2 separate regions of the Homo sapiens genome follow, and region 1 is linked to region 2. Evidence: promoter capture Hi-C in 16 types of primary human blood cells and fetal thymus (Javierre and others, 2016). All regions are on one chromosome and are shown on one strand. The core of a region is centred on a gene start or on the middle of the fragment in contact, and the rest is flanking DNA. Distances in the headings are between cores, read along the strand shown. Region 1 overlaps VWA3A (von Willebrand factor A domain containing 3A). Region 2 holds the start of PDZD9 (PDZ domain containing 9).

Evidence for each region. Contacts are between HindIII fragments. The CHiCAGO score rates a contact against its expected background, and 5 or more counts as called.
Region 1: a fragment that was not itself captured here is called in contact with the fragment with the promoter of PDZD9 in region 2 in 3 of 17 cell types (M0 macrophages, M2 macrophages and M1 macrophages); the score reaches 11.0 in M0 macrophages.

The regions. Positions count from the first base shown.
Region 1 is chr16:22,118,223-22,123,460 of GRCh38, forward strand. It overlaps VWA3A (von Willebrand factor A domain containing 3A), which reads left to right. Exons shown (of 34, transcript NM_173615.5): 12 at 680-805; 13 at 2,746-2,881; 14 at 3,292-3,395; 15 at 4,863-4,943. Among named protein-coding and RNA genes, the nearest start is that of VWA3A, 28 kb to the left of the region's middle. The HindIII fragment of the contact is 6,294 bases long and covers 1-5,088 here.
Region 2 is chr16:21,997,826-22,002,833 of GRCh38, forward strand. It overlaps PDZD9 (PDZ domain containing 9), which reads right to left and starts at 3,291. Exons shown (of 4, transcript NM_001363519.1): 1 at 3,192-3,291. The coding sequence starts at 3,222. It also overlaps the pseudogene LOC100420536. RefSeq lists an enhancer at 3,437-3,486. The HindIII fragment of the contact is 4,622 bases long and covers 44-4,665 here.

The DNA of each region.
Region 1 (5,238 bases), core at 692-3,191, 120 kb after region 2:
GTGACCAATGATTGCACCACTGCACTCTAGCCTGAGTGACAGAGCAAGACCCTTTCTCTAAAAATAATAACAAAATAAATAAATTATTATTATTATTATAGCCATCCTAGTGCGTGTAAAGTGTTTCTTTACACTTTTACAGTTAGAAAACTCTTCAATTGTTTTAAAACACAGCAGGTCAGGATGGGTGCAGTGGCTCACACCTGTAATCCCAGCACTTTGGGAGGCCGAGGCGGGCAGATCACAAGGTCAGGAGATTGAGACCATCCTGGCTAACACGGTGAAACCCCGTCTCTACTAAAAATAACAAAAAATTAGCCGGGCGTGGTGGCGGGCGCCTGTAGTCCCAGCTACTGGGGAGGCTGAGGCAGGAGAATGGCGTGAACCCAGGAGGCGGAGCTTGCCGTGAGCCGATATTGTGCCACTGCACTCCAGCCTGGGTGACAGAGCGAGACTCCATCAAAACAAACAAACAAACAAAACACAACAGGCCAATTGCACAAACGGAGCACAGCATGTCTGCAGGCTCTGTCTGGCACATGGGTCCCAGTGTATAAGGCCTGGTGGAGAGAGTCTGACCCTCTGCCTGGGCATTGGCCTGGCTGCTTGCCCCTTCCTGGGTTGACCCCTGCAGGTAGTCAAGTGATTCCGGATGTCTGATTGCTCTTGCCACCCTCAGCACTACACCAGCCGGGACATGGATGAGCTCCTGGCAGAAATTCAGAAGGCCCAGAGCCTCCTCAGCCACGTGCAAGCCCTGCAGCACAGCAGCCCCTGTGAGGCGCTCACCTGCACCATGGAGGAGGTAGGTGGTGCGAGTGTCAATTCTGGGGCCTTCTCCCAGCAGCACTCAGCTGGCCTCGTTCCCCTTTCTCACCTGTTCATAGGGGGCACAGCTGCCAGTGCCTGTCACTTCCTAAAATCGAAACAAGGCAAGGCCCACCCTCCATTGCACCCCAGAGCTCTGAGTTGGGTGGGCTGGGTGGGCCCACCATGGTACCGGAAAGATTCTGGTGGATTTACTAACTGTAAAATTTATTTCAGAGAAAGACCAGCAGGCTCCTGCCACCCTCTCTATCCTGTCACTGTCCCCTCCCTTACCCCCAGTTTGGAGAATGATGAAAACCTCAACCACCCAGAATAGGCTGCCTTTAAGAGAGTCATTCTCACCTCAGCCATGGCTTACACCTGAAATCCCAGTGCTTTGGGAGGCCAAGGCCAGAGAATCGCTTGAGTCCAGGCATTCAAGACCAGCCTGAGCAACATGGCAAAACACCGTCTCTACAAAAGATTAAAAAATTAGCCAGGCACGATGGCATGTGCCTGTAGTTCCAGCTACTCAGGAGGCTGAGGTGGGAGGATGATTGAACCTGGGAGATTGAGGCTGCAGTGAGCCATGATGGCACTGCTGTGCTCCAGCCTGGGCAACAGAGCGAGGCCCTGTCTCAAAAAAGAATTTTAAAAATATACAAATACAATAATAACAATTAGTATTAGAATTATAATAGTTCTTGGCCAGGTGTGATGGCTCATGCCTGTAATCCCAACACTTTGTGAGGCTGAGGCAGGTGGATCGCTTGAGGTGAGGAGTTCAAGACCAGCCTGGCCAACATGGTGAAACCTCGTCTCTACTAAAAATACAAAACTTAGCGAGGCATGGTGGCAGGCACCTGTAATCCCAGCTACATGGGAGGCTGATTCAGGAGAATCTCTTGAACCCAGGAGGCAGAGGTTGCAGTGAGCCTAGATAGTCCCACTGCACTCCATCTTGGGTAACAGAACAAGACTCCCAAAAAAAAAAAAAAATTATAATAGTTCTCATTTATTAAGTCCTCATTATGAGATAGGCACAATGTTCAATTATTTAAATGCTTTATCTTAACACTCTGAGGTAAGTATGTTATTACTTTTTATAGATGAGGAAACCAAAGTTAAGAGGTTACATAACTTGCCTGAGATTGCAAAGATAGAAATAGATTGAGTTTGGATTGAACCCAGGTCTAAGGCCCAAAACCTTGCCAAGAGTTTCCCAAAATGAAGTGCATGTACTACTTGTAGTTTGCAAGATGATTTTAGGTGGTGCATGGATTAAATTATTTTTTAAATGGTATCTATTTAAAACTAGCTCATTATGGTCATCATAGATCTTCTTTCTAAAATTGTGAAAGGGATTGAATTTTTAAAATTAAAGAAAATTAATAACTAAAAAGCATTAATGTTACATATTGATTCTTAAAATATTAATAATAATACAGTAGCACTCAGATATAGCAAAATTCATGAAGGCAGTGCTCAAATCTCTGAAGTTTGGGACTTGCTGTTCTATTTTTACTTACACATTCGCTATGTAATTTAATCTCTCAGCGCCTCAGTTCTTTACTTTGTCAATGTGGCCACAGGGTGGCCAGGTGGGAGCTCACTAAGTGATTTGCTGCAGGAGTTTTTAGGGGTGACCTGTCACCTTGGAGTCCATGGTGCTGATCTTCATGGTAAGGTTAGGGAAGGAGCCAGGAGCATGGGCCACTGTGAGAGCGAGTTGCTGGGTACTCCTTCCTCTTCCCCTGGAAATTCCAGAAATCTGCAGAGAAGGGGAGGGGATGATGGAAGGGAAAGGCAAAACTGCCTTTAATCTACCAGGGAGTGTTTAAGAAGCTCCACTTGCATTGACTGGGTGGAGGGTGAAGACTGAGGACTTTTCAGCTCTAAAATATGATTATGTAATGAGGGCTTTCTCATTTAACTTAGATTTCCACAGAGATTACAAATGGGCCACTCATAAGCCTCTTGCCTAAACCCCCAAAGCATGACGCTCCTCTCACCATTGAGTTTCCAAACTTGGACAAGACTTCTGCAGAGTGGCTTAAGGTCAATGGTCTGAAAGGTAAATCTCCAAAGAGGGCAGAACCCAGGAAACAGGTGACTGACTAAAAGGCTTGAATCCGGCCGGGCACAGTGGCTCACACCTGCAATCCCAGCACTTTGGGAGGCCAAGAAGGAAGGATCAGTTGAGGCCAGGGATATGAGACCAACCTAGGCAACATAGCAAGACCCCATCTCTATAAAAAATAAAATTAGCTGGGTGTGGTGGCATGCACCTGCAGTCCCAGCTACTCAGGTAGGCTGAGGCAGGAGAATACCTTGAGCCCAGGAGTTTGAGGATGCAGTGAGTTATGATTGTGCCACTGCACTCTAGCCTGGGTGACAGAGCAAAACCCTGTCTCAAAAAAATAAAAGGCTTGAACCCTTTGGAGCTTCTCAGGCAGTGCCTCCAACCTCACACTTTTTTTTCAGCCAAGAAATTAAGTCTATATCAGGTCCTGGCACCCAATGCATTCTCTCCTGTGGAGGAATTTGTACCTATTCTCCAGAAAACAGTATCATCGACCATCCATGAGGTAATTCAGATTCATAATTCTCTCCAGTCCTCCACAGGAGAGCTCCCTTGTGGCTTTTCCTACCTTCATAAATGTTCTGGCAGTAAGAATCACCAGGGATTCAGGCTTCCCACCCAGGACCCTAGAATGCACATCAAATCCACTGTAGCTGTTGGTTTTCAAAGATCTGAAAATTGAACTTGGGAGATGAGGCAAGAGGGATAAATCAGGTACCACGGTCACCTCCTCCATGAAGGTTTTCTCCTCCCAACTCAGACAGGACAGACTTGCTTTCTTTATGTCCTCGCTGTACCTAATGCAGACTTCTGCAATTGCTCCCATAAAGGATTAATGCATGAATTTTTACATATTTAAATCCCCATCAAGTATGAAGTATAAAGAGGGCAAACTCTTCTCTAACTCTCTATCCTCCATGTTTAGTATAAGTAGGAAATCAATGCATGTTTACTGGATGGCTGAGAAGGTAGTTGGAAGAAAGGATGGCAAGAAGAAGGAAAAGAATGATGGATGGATGGATGGATGGATGGATGGATGGATAGGTAAATGGATGAATGGATGGATGAGTGGATGGATAGATAGATGGATGGATAGATGGATGGGTGGGGGGGTGGGTGGGTGGATGAATGGATGGATGGATGGATGAGTGGATGGATGGATGGATGGGTGGATGGATGGATGGATGGATGGATGGATGCATGGATGGATGGATGCATGGATGGGTGAATGGATAGAAATCTGAACAGGTGGAAGGGTAAAAGGGAAAATGGAAGGATAGATGACAAAATGGAATAAAGGACAAGTGAAAGAATGAAAGTAGAAATTAAAGTAAGGATGGATGGATGGAGGAGTGAAAGGATGGAGAAATGGAAGGAAGGAATAATAGGTGAATAGAAAGATGGCAGAAAGATGGAAGACTGAAAGGAAGAGAGAAGAGTAAGGGACATGTAGGTCTAGCAGTGCATGGATGAATGACTAGATGGATGGAGTGATAGATGGATATGTTCACTTGGTGGAGGATGAAAAAACAGGATGAACAAGTTGGATTTTCAAAGCATCTGTAAAGGCCTGTCTAGGTTCCCAAACCTAAGAAGCTATGGCCAGTATATTTTAAGGTCTCCAACTGTGCTCTCTATTACTAAAACCCTCCAACCATATCTTCATGACTCTGATGTTCAGAAAAGCCTCTCGGGAAAACAGCCTGAGAGGCTTGCTGTCAGGTATCGTCCATTCAGGGGATCACTCTCTCTAAGGCTCTCTACTTCCAGTTCCAGACAAGGCAATGACCTGGTGGTGGTGGTGGTATTGGGGTGTGTGTGTGGTGGAGATGTGGGAGGGAGTTCGATCCGACCTCAAATGTGTTCAGAGTCCACTTCACTCTCCTGCACCTGATTTGGAGAACCAGTGCCCAAATTAAACTACATGTACTTCTGTTCGCCTGCTCACCCTCCTGCCCATGCCTGAGTATAGAAGGCAATGATACAATTTGAATGGCACGACGGGACAGTGAAGAACATTCATGTGGACCCACCCTTCCTCTATAAGTACCAGGTCAGTGATGGGTTCAATCAGTCAGAAAATGGGGTGCAGAAAGTGGGGACGGGAGGAAGGTTCCCTGGGCTATGAAGTCACCAAGCCATTGACTCAACTCCCTCTTGTAAAGAGGGACTGTGTGCTCCACCTACAGGCCTCCTGAAGCTTTGGCCATCTCCTCCCCAAGCAGGGACCTCAATGCCTTTAAAAAAAAAAAAGGCTTCTAATCCTCTGGGGAAAGATCTGCTTCCTTCCCCATTTGATGCAATGAAATACCGTGTGACTCTTCCCTTCCTGTTCTTGTGGTGAATTT
Region 2 (5,008 bases), core at 2,041-4,540:
CATTTCACACACAACTCCTTTCCATAAGGACAGGTGACACACAAGCTTGCCAAGTCCATGTGACTGTGGTGTTTTCAGGGCCACTGCTGAGGGAGAGGCTCCCCCAGCTCCCTACCTCTGGCTGTGGGGAGCTGGAGGGGTTCATGGCCCTTTCCTCTAAAGCAAATGTCCTTGCCCATCTCCAACCTCACCTTCCCCCAAACCACAGATGCTCTCTGTTTGGGAAAATAAAATAGCATAATATAAACAAGATACCATCTTCAGAGACCTTTCAGGGTTCTGGGAGCAACTGGGGGCAGGATACGCCCTGCCTGAGCCTCTGGTTCCTGAGCAAACAGAGAAGTCACATCTTGGGCAAGGTCCAGTGGTTCCTATCTCAGTTTGTAAATTCAATATGCTTATAAGGTAAGCTACCAGGAGCCCACTTTTAAAAGTCAGCAGGGTTAAGTAAAAGAAGCCAGACTCAAAAGGCTCCTTACAGAAGAAGGACATGTCTCAGGAGTTTGATCCAGACCTCTATAAGCAAATGCAGAAGTTCGGGAAGGCAAGAAACACAAGTACATCTTGAAAAAAAAACAAAAAAAACTTTGTGCAAGGCACGGTAGCTCACGCCTGTAATCCCAGCACTTTAGGAGGCCAAGGCGGGTAGATCACGAGATCAGGAGTTCGAGACCAGCCTGGCCAACATGGCGAAACCTGTCTCTAAGTTACAAAAAATTAGCTGGGCATGGTGGCGCGGGCCTGTAATCCCAGCTACTTGGGAGGCTGAGGCACGAGAATCGCTTGAACCCAGGAGGCAGAGGTTGCAGTGAGCTGAGATGGCGCCATTGTACTCCAGCCTGGGTGACAGGGCGAGACTCTGTCTCAAAAACAAAAAAAAATTATCTGGGCATGTTGGTGCATGCCTGTAATCCCAGCTACAAGCCTGGGTGACAGAGCAAGACTCCATCTCAAAAAAAAAAAAAAAAAAAAAAAAAGAGAGAGAAAAAAACCTTGACAAAGTGAAGTTGGATGTAGATTTTCTTGGAGCAAGTAAATACATGCAATCTCCTGTCTCAAATGCTAGCAACATACCAGACCACTCTGCTTCATTTTGGAGAGAAGACTTCTCACACTATGGCAGCCATCCATGAGAGCTTCACAGGTTATCAGCCATATGAAGTCACTACTTTAAAGCACTTACAAAACCCTCTGAAAAAACTAGTTGAGAAAGAAGAAAAGAAGCTCACCCAGCAGGAAAGCACAGATGTAACAGTGCAGGAGCTGAGTCAATTAATTTCATTAGAGGATGAAAACCACGACAAGGAAAACACTGAAGATGGAAAAGGTATTTTATGTGTTTTAGGCAAAGGCTCTTCACACAGTGCATGCTCAGGATGAACTATTAGACATGAAACCTGAGGAAAGTGCTCGCTAGGGCCCAGTGGCAGGGACCCTGGAACCCGAAGGTACTGACAAAGATGATCCTACTGCTGTTGAAAGTGAGATCTTCAATGCTTCCTCCCTGGAAAAGGGTGAGCTCAGAAAAGAGTGAGCTGCTGTGTTTGGGGACAACCAGGTGGAGGAGGCAGCACTATGGTCCTCGGAGAGCCAGACCCCAAGCACCAGACTAAAATATGAAAGACTTACAGGTTTTGCTACAAGGCTAGTCAGACAGCAATGTCAACCTTCCCAAGGACAAGCAGTCCAAATGACAACAGCCCTGCAGTGAAAAAGCCTAAGGCTGTCTGGCACCTGCCTGCCTAGTTCAGCCTCTTTGCCAACCTCAAGTCTTATCAAATCCTGATGCTGTGCGGAAAAAAGCCATAAAGAACAAGAATTGCTCAGTGCAGGAGTCTGCATCCTTCAGTAAGCCCACCTGGGGGCTAGCAGAAGTATAAAGTGATTAGAGCCTGGGCAACATAGTGACACCTCATCTCTTCTATTTAGGCTGGGCATGGTGGCTCACACCTGTAATCCCAGCACTTTGGGAGGCCGAGGGTGGGCGGATCACTTGGGGTCAGGAGTTCGAGACCAGCCTGGCCAGCATGGTGAAACACCGTTGCTACTGAAAACACAAAAATCAGCCAGGCGTGGTGGTTCACGCCTGTAATCCAAGCTACTCTGGAGGCTGAGGGGCAAGAATCGCTTGAACCCGCCTGGAAGGCGGGGGTTGCAGTAAGCCAAGATCATGCCGCTGCACTCTAGCCTGGGTCACAGAGCAAGACTCTGTCTCAAAAAAAAAAAAAAAATTAGCTGAATGTGGTGGTGCATGCCTACAGTCCCAGCTATGGGAGGCTGATGCAGGAGGATTGCTTGAGCCCAAGAATTGGAGGCTGCAGTGAGCCAGGAGCATACCACTGCACTCCAGCCTGAGCGACAGAACAAGACTCTGTCTCTAAAAATAAAATACAGTGACCCATATGCTATTTTAAGATTTATGTGCCCTTTTAATAAAAATGAAAGGGCCAAAGTCCCTATTTACATTGGTATAATTTTTTAAAGGCTCCTTACTATGTGATTTCATTTTTATGATGTTCTCCATGGAAAAGGCAAAAAAAAAAAAACGCTGTAAAAAACAGATGGGGGTGTGAGGAGCTGCAGTGGGGTGGGGTTTGGCTGCAACTGGGCATTGCAAAGTAATTTTAGGGAGTGGTGGAACTGTTCCCTATCTTGATGGAGGGGGTGGTTCAACGTGGGTATAGCTTGTCAAAACGGTAGCTGTACTTTTAAAAGGGGGGATCTTACTGCATGGAAATTATACCTTGATAAAAATAACGATGGCCAAGGCGGGCGGATCACTTGAGGTCAGGAGTTTGAGACCAGCCTGGCCAACATGGTGAAATCCCATCTCTACTAAAAATAAAAAATTAGCTGGGCATGGTGGCAGGCACCTGTAATCCCAGCTACTCGGGAGGCTAAGGCAGAGGAATCACTTGAGCCTGGGAGGCAGAGGTTGCAGTGAGCTGAGATCGCGCCACTGCACTCCAGCCTGGGGGACAAAGCAAGACTCCTTCTCAAATGATGATGATGATGATGATGATGATGATGATGATGATGATGATGATGATAATGATGATGATGATAACAACAACGATGGAGAGAGGTTATCTCCCAGGCCAAGAGTGCACCGTTGCCATTTTACAGAGGAGGAACATTGACGAAGGCTTGGTCCCCAGGGCTTCTTCACCCGCTTCCTTCTCCCCAGTTACCTTTTTTGTTTTTGTGGGAGGCCTTCTGCATGGTCCCGGGAGGTCAGGCAGCCCGGGAGGGCCTCCCGGAGCAGAGGCTGGAGTCAGTCCCAATGCCAACAGTTTCGAACCTTGCCCGCGGGCACTGCCCTCGGGATGGCCGCCAGGGGGCGCTGCGCCGCCACTGCCCAGAAATTGGGCGGCAGTGAGGTCGCCGCAAGGCTTCCCGTGGACCCTGCAAAACGTGGCGTGGGCATTGCACACCATTGTACTGTATGGAAACTTCTGCAGAGGTTAGCACCGTGCCTGACCCACGGTGGTTTCTTCATTCCTTCTTTTCTTTTTCTTTTTTTAAGAGACGGGCAGGGGGTGGGGGTCTCACTATGTTGCTCAGGCTCAACACAACTGTTGCACTATGGGCTCAAGCGATCTGCCCGCCTCAGCCTCCCAAAGTGCTGGGATTACAGGCATGAGCCACCGCGCTTGGCTTCTTCATTCATTCTTGGTGAACCTAAGAAATAGGGAGGGGGAGAAGGCACAGAGGAGGGTGTCTCAAAGATGTGAGGTGGTCTGCAGAGGAAGATCACAGCCAGAAGATCACAGGAGATCACAGAATACCTAGAAGATCAGAGAATCCCCCGCTGCACTTCTAATAATGGTATTTTAAAAAAATTGTTACATCAGTAGCTCCAATGCTTTGGAACTGCACTTTTTTTCATGAATGTTTTGAATAAGAAAAGGCCCCAGGGTGGCCTAAAAAAAAATGAGTCACTATTAGGAGAGGCACTATTAATGCTTCCTTCTTTTTTCCAAGATAATTCTTCCTCCCACACACATTCACTCATACAACAAGTATTTACAGGGAGCTGTTCTGTCATTTACTGATACTGGGGACACAACAGTAAGCAAGACAAACACAGAAACACAGGCTCTATCCTCTTGAAACCTGTACTTAAAAAACAGATGAAGTGGACAATTTTAGGAAAATATAAATTATTAAAAATAAATTCTAGGCCAGGTGTGGTGTCTAACACCTGTAATCCTAGGTACTCAGGAGACTGAGGCAGGAGGACTGCTTGAGCCCAGGAGTTTGAGATCAGCCTGGGCAACATAGTGAGACCCTTTCTCTATAAAAAAAATTTAAAAATTAGCTGGGCATGGTGGTGCACATCTGTAGTCCTAGCTACTCAGGAGGCTGAGATGGGAGGATCACTTGAGCCCAGGATTCAAGGCTGCAGTGAGCTATGATTGAGTCACCACCTTCCAGCCTGGGTGATGGAGCAAGATCCTGTCTCAAAAAATAAAAATGAATAAATGAGTTAGTAAATTCTAGAAGAAAGAGAAAACCTAATGAGGTAGGCCCTGGTGTTATCCCCGGTCTGATGAAACTGAGAGGCTAAGCACCTTGCCCCATCCCTTCAACAAACAGTCATTAACCACCTATTAGGTGTCAGGCACTGTGCAAAGATTTCCATGGTAGATCTGGTTATGTCCAAGCTTATTCTGTTGTTTCTGTGGCTCTACACAGACAATAAGCCAGGGCAGATTCCTCTTTAGGTTCCTTTTTTTTTTTTTTTTTTTTGAGATGGGGTCTCATTCTGTCACCCAGGCTGGAGTGCAGTGACAAAATCTCAGCTCACTGCAACCTCCGCCTTCCAGGCCCAAGCGATCCTTCCACCTCAGCCACCAGAGTAGCTGGGACCACAAGCCTGTGTCACCACGCCCAGCTAATTTTTGTATTTTTAGTAGAGACAGGGTTTTGCCATGTTGGCCAGACTGGTCTCCAACTCCTGAGCTCAGGGTGATCCACCCGCCTTGGCCTCCCAAAGTGCTGGGAT